2 separate regions of the Homo sapiens genome follow, and region 1 is linked to region 2. Evidence: promoter capture Hi-C in human tissues and cell types (Jung and others, 2019). All regions are on one chromosome and are shown on one strand. Each heading gives the region's core, a stretch centred on a gene start or on the middle of the fragment in contact. The rest is flanking DNA. Distances are from core to core; before and after follow the strand shown. Region 1 has its middle 29 kb from the start of ATP8B4. Region 2 holds the start of FBN1 (fibrillin 1).

Region 1 (3,088 bases), core at 439-2,938, 1.5 Mb after region 2:
GCTCACGCCTGTAATCCCAGCACTTGGGGAGGTCAAGGTGGGCAGATCACCTGAGGTCAGGAGTTCAAGACCAGCCTGGGCAACATGGTAAAACCCTGCCTCTACTACAATTACAAGAATTAGTCGGGTGTGGTGCTGCATGCCTGTAATCCCAGCTACTCAGGAGGCTGAGGCATGAGAATCGCTTGAACTGGGGAGGCGGAGGTTGCAGTGAACAGAGATCACACCACTGCACTCCATCCTGGGTGACAGAGAGAAAGAGACACTGTCTCCAAAAAAAAAAAAAAAAAAAAAGTATATACTTCCTATTTTGTCCATTGAAAGAGCCTAGAAGCAATAACCCTCCTGCAGAAGGAGTATACCTGCACCCTGGCTTCCATGTCTAAACACCATAGTCAAAAGACAAAAGCAGGATCCCACGGAGAAATGGTTGATTCCAGGGCTGGGTCAAGGGAAGCACAAGGTGATCCTGGAACATCTTTTGTTTCAGAACATCAGAACATGCTCAAAAGCTGATCGGGACCTGCCAAAAGACACAGGAGCCAACCAAGATCAATGACACAAAAGAATATATAACATTGAATTTTTTGAAAATTGCTGAGTCTATACCCAACCTTTAAAGGAGGAAAAAAAGAAAAAGAAAAGATGCCAATGAATGCATGTGGAAGGAATGATAGAAACAGAAAATCACCCTCTCAGAACCACCATAGAAATAATAGATTCAGGCAAGGATCATCAAAGAGTGCCAAAATCATTCAGTGGGAAATTGGGGCGTAAAAGAATATTTATACAATCTAAAAGTATAACTCCATGCAATACATATTAATTACAAAGAAGAACTATATCTTTCCAATGCATCTAGCAGTTAGCATTTCTACTAAGTGATCCAACTTAATACGAGCAATAATGGGACAATCAGGCAGCAGATGCCTCCTGGTCTGACACACTGAGAAGGACAGAACACCACTTCTTTAGTGTTCCTGCCAAACTGCAAAACCTGAATCTAATCATGAGGAAACATCACATAAACCCAAGTTAAAGAACATTCAACAAAATACTGGCCTGGACTCCAAAAATGTTAATGTCAATTAAAGACCAAGGAAAAGCTGGGGAACTGCTCTTGATTAAAGGAAACATAAAAGACATAAATAATTATATTTAATATTAAATGCAATCTGTAATCTAGATTGGCTTTTGGATGGTTTACAAAAAAAAAGCTATAAGACATTGCAATGGGTTGAATGTGTCCCCTCCAAAATGTAGGTGTTGCCAATATGACAGTATTAAGAGGTGGGGCCTTTAAAAGGGGATTAGGCCATGAGAGCTCCTCCCTCATGAATGGGATTAAGGCCCTTACAAAAGAGGCTTCATGCAGTATGCATTCCTTGCCATTCCACCTTCTGCCACGTGAGGACACAGCATTCCTTTTCTTGGAGGCTACAGCCTTCACCAGATAACCAAACCTGCTAATGCAAAGGATCTTGGACTTTCTAGCCTCCAAAACTATGAAAAAATAAATTTCTGTTCTTTATAAATTACCCAGTCTAAGGTACTCTGTAATAGCAGCACAAAACAGGCTAACACAGATATTATTGAAGTAATTCGAAAACTGAATAAGAATTCATATTAGATAATAATATTAAATGTAATATTAGATAATAAAATTGTATCGACTTCAAGTTTCCCAAGTGTTATAATTCTGTTGTAGTTAGATTACAAAATTCTCTTGTTTTAAGTGATACGTACTGAAAGTATTTAGGAATAAAATGTTATATTGTCTACAACTATCTCTCAAATGGTTCAACATCATTTCATCCATAAGTACTTAGTATGTATCTCAAAAAGATAAGTATCCCTTTTAAAAATAACAATACATCATGCTATTTTTAAAGCTTCCCAGGTGATTCTCTTGTTCATCTATGAATCAATACTACAGAGATGATAAGCAGAACTAATCTCAGGGGTTAAATGTGAATGTGGTGGTGGCAGTTGAGAACATTGTGTTAAGAACAATTCTGACACATGATTAGGCTCAGCCTAAGATAATGCCATGATTGATTGGCTAGGTCTGCCGTAGTGCCCAGTATGTCCCTGTATATTATCTGAGTCATGTCATAAGCATAAAACACAGAAGACAAGAGAGAGTAAGCTATAGGCCAGAAGTTAGAAAGGAGATCCTAGTATCACTGGTAGAGTCTGATCTGGTGATAGACTGCTGACCTCTCTTCCTCTTCAAATCAGTCAGACCTGTTTTCCTGGTTAAACAGTTTATAAGGAAACAAAAGGCAAGCATGGGAGGGGATAATATGTGTATGTGCACTAAGCCTTGAAGCAGATCTCTTTGATCATCACAGAGTCCACTGAGGTGGTAGGAAACAACTGCAGAGAGGAGCTCTTTAGAGAAATAACCACAATAATAATAATGATAATGATGATAATATGCTCAAAAGAGAAGTGAATCTAATGAAAAACTACTTCATTAGAATGAAATTCTAATAGAGGCATTTATCAACCTAAATAGCAAAGAAAGACTCTCTAAAAATAAATGATATGTATTTGGGAATAAGGCATTGCAGTGGGAAAGCACATGCCATAGTAAACTATGTGTGTATTCAGGGCAGTAAAGGAAGACAAAGGCTTTTAAGAGAAAAATTAAGAAAATTTCATAGTTGGCCGGGCACAGTGGCTCATGCCTGTAATCCCAGAACTTTCAGAGGCCAAGGTAGGCGGATCACCTGAGGTCAGGAGTTTGAGACCAGCCTGGCCAACATGGCAAAACGCTGTCTCTACTAAAAACACAAAAATTAGCCAGGTGTGGTGGAGGGTGCCTGTAATCCCAGCTACTCAGGAGGCTGAGGCAGGAGAATCGCTTGAACCCGGGAGGTGGAGGTTGCAGTGAGCCAAGATCACGCCACTGCACTCCAGTCTGGGTGACAGAGCAAGACTCCGTCCCAAAAAAAAAAAAAATTTCATAGTGGTTTTTGAGATAATTATCCTTGGCTACAAGGATCAGTAACAGTAACAAGAGTGACAGCAGGTGAGCTTGAACAGTGAGTTGCTGGGCAAATGTCCACATAAAAGTATTTTT
Region 2 (2,840 bases), core at 180-2,679:
AGGGAAAGGAACGGGCTTCTCCTCTTATCCCACTCGCAACTCCTCCCCTTCTTCCCCAAGGAACTCTTCTCGCCTCCCAAAATCTGCCTCAACAATGGCCCAAGATTCCATTTAACCACGTCCTCTCCTTTGGGGCAGAAATCTCTGGGAGTAGGGGCAAGGTAGTTTAACCACGAACGGGGTGGGGACTAAACAACCCTAGCACCTCTAAGGTGCCCCCAGGAGGTCTTGCCAAGGAGTCTTCCACAGGGAGAGTCATCCTGCCCGTTGTTCTGGATCTTGAAACTTGGGAGACCCACACCAAAGGAGGGAACCGGTTCCTTTACCCTTTAAGCGCGTCGTGTCCTCCACCGCCTCTTCTCTTGGCCCGACTGGCTCTGGTTTCCTTCACGTTCCCAGCCTCCAAATTGGCGTCCGCCCCATGGCTCGTGTAGGACGCTAAAAGCACGGTAAATCCCAGGGCGATCTCCAGCAGACGCCCTCGACGCATGATGCCGAGCCGCCACCGGCTCCCGCCGCCTCTTGCCGCGCCCGGGGCTCGGTCTGCGGCCGCCGCTGCGCCCTGAAGCGCACCGCGCCGCCGGGGTCCCGCTATCCCGCCGCCCGTCCCCCGGGCCGGGCTCCTCCCGCCTTCTCCAGGCGCTGCTCCCACTTCAGGCGGCCCCTGCCAGCTGCAACACAGAGACAAATCCCCGAGGCGGGGAGACTTTCAGGGCATCGGGATGCTGAAGCCTCGCGGTCCCCATTCCCAAGCCCAACCCGTGCGCCGCCTGCGCGTGGCGCAGTTAATTTGGGTAAGGGAAGACCGTTTGGTCCACAGCTGGCTGGAAAGCCCAGGCCCCCGGCGGCAGCAGCCCCGGCCGATCCCTCGGCCTCCCGGGCCCCGCCAGAAGAGCGCGGCGCAAAGTACCCATATCCCCAGCGGTCCTAAGCCCCGGGCGAGCTCTCTGGGTTTATTTTTTTTAGCGGCACGAATTGCGCGCGATGCGCGCTCTGAACGCCCCACTCCTCAGCCTGCCCTCTCCGCCAGGCTGGAAGCCAGCCGCGCCGTCCCCGCCGACTCCGGGCGATGCCACCGCCCCCCGAACATCTGACGCGGAGCCCGGCACCAAGAGCCCCGGGCCAGGAAGCTGTCAGGCAGGGGAGGGCCAGCGCCAGCTGTGGACGTTCCGGGACAGCCCCTCACCCCAGTCCCTGTCCCTGCCCTCGGCGCGGCGCAAACGCAAAAGCCTCCGTGGCCGCAGCTCCAGCCCCGGTGGCCGCCCGACCCCCGTCGGGACCCCGGCTGCACCCACTGGAGAAGCGGCGGCTCCGACTCCCGAGGAGGCGGCGGCGGCTGCTCCCAGTCGTGGCCGCTACAGCCACTGCTCGGCTCCGCTCGCAGCTGTCCCAGCTGTGGCTCCTGTCCGCTTGTGGCACCCACAGTCTCTGCCGCGGCTCCCGCAGCCCCCTCCTTTCCCCACCTCTTCAAGTATCGTCCGCGCAGCGGTTTCTCGCGAGAGAAATACTTTTTTTAAAAAAAGAAAGAAAAAGAAAATGACACCCCCTCCTTCGTCGCCCTCATCACCACCCCACCCCCCGGCCCCATCCATCCTCCCTTTCCACTCCCCTTTGCCAGCCTCCGCCTCGGTGCGGGGCCTCTCGCTCGCAGGATTAGCGCAGTGGGAGGAGGCAGAGGTGATCAGGTCCTGCCCGGCCTGGGACTTTTTGTCTTGAGGTGGGGAGGGGAGAAATGGGAAGAGGTGGAGTAGCGGTTTTAGCCCGCTCTGCGGCTGCGAGGTTTAGATCCGAGATTAACCTCTCCCGCGATAGGTGAAGCCCTACCGGAGCAGAAAGCTGTTCCACCTGCACCAAGAATGCGCGCTGGAGACGGTTGCCCCGGAGGCCCTGGCCCGAGAGAAAACCAGTCCCCGCTGCCCGCGCCTCCCGGTAGCGCGCTCCCTGCGCCTCTCCCGCCGGACACTCAGCAGACGCCGGAGGCCGGGAGGCTAAGACTGGGCGCGTCGCAGGCCGGGACCGCGGCAGAGGCTGCTGTGCCGACCGAGGAGAGGGCTCTGCCGCCCCCACTTGCCCTGGGTGTCGAGAGCCCACTCCAGACGCGGCTCTTCTGAGGCTCAATTCAAGCCACCCAGGCCTGAATCCAGGGTGCTCTCTCTAAGTCGGTGTCCAACCCAGGGGCCTGTAAATGTTGGAACCTAGGATGTAGGATGGGAGCGGTGAAGGGATGGTCCTCTTGCCCAGCCCAGATTAAGACTGGGGTTCATCTGGAGGACTCTACTTACACCCTCCCGGTCCCCTCGCCCTCCCCCACACACAGCTGCCTCTCCCCAGGATATGCGCGGCACAGTGAATTTAGTGGCTTTGAAAGGTATAGTATTTGTGGCATCCTTATATGGATAATGCCCAATGATGCCTGCACCCTGTAACAGTTTAGGAAGGCCTGAAGTCGCACACTGGGTCCTGGCTGCTGTAACTGGAGACCCCCAGAAGATCCCCTGCAAGCAGCCACCAGCCTGCTGTCAAGCCAATAATAAAAGCTCAGCACAAACAGGTACCCTGGGAATGTATCTTGTTGAAAGGGATTTTCCTTATTTGTAACCGTTTGTAAAGGGGCCCAGACAGTAGGGTAGAGAGACCTGGGCAAGTTATTCAACTTCTTTCCAAATACAAGATGGGACTTGTAGTGTCCACCACACAGGGTTGTAATGGTGATGATGGACATGCTGAACTGCTGTGATACATGAAGATGAAACAGAAAAACTGTGGGAACTATGAGCTGATCTAAAGCCATAGTCCTGTAAGTATGTATGTGGTGTACTTTAAGGTCTCACCTGCAAAAG

What was found. Contacts are between HindIII fragments. The study calls those that stand out against the background at their distance.
Region 1: a contact is called between a fragment that was not itself captured here and the fragment with the promoter of FBN1 in region 2, in 1 of the 25 tissues and cell types used here (lymphoblastoid cells).

Annotation. Positions count from the first base shown.
Region 1 is chr15:50,147,148-50,150,235 of GRCh38, forward strand. It overlaps a transcript of ATP8B4 not described here. Among named protein-coding and RNA genes, the nearest start is that of ATP8B4, 29 kb to the left of the region's middle. The HindIII fragment of the contact is 5,114 bases long and covers 1-3,088 here.
Region 2 is chr15:48,644,280-48,647,119 of GRCh38, forward strand. FBN1 (fibrillin 1) reads right to left here and starts at 1,430. Exons shown (of 66, transcript NM_000138.5): 1 at 1,296-1,430; 2 at 327-671. The coding sequence starts at 490. FBN1-DT (FBN1 divergent transcript) reads left to right here and starts at 1,526. Exons shown (of 2, transcript NR_183872.1): 1 at 1,526-2,551. RefSeq lists silencers at 405-454, 555-684, 1,095-1,274, 1,315-1,394 and enhancers at 1,468-1,992, 1,505-1,594. The HindIII fragment of the contact is 10,434 bases long and covers 1-2,840 here.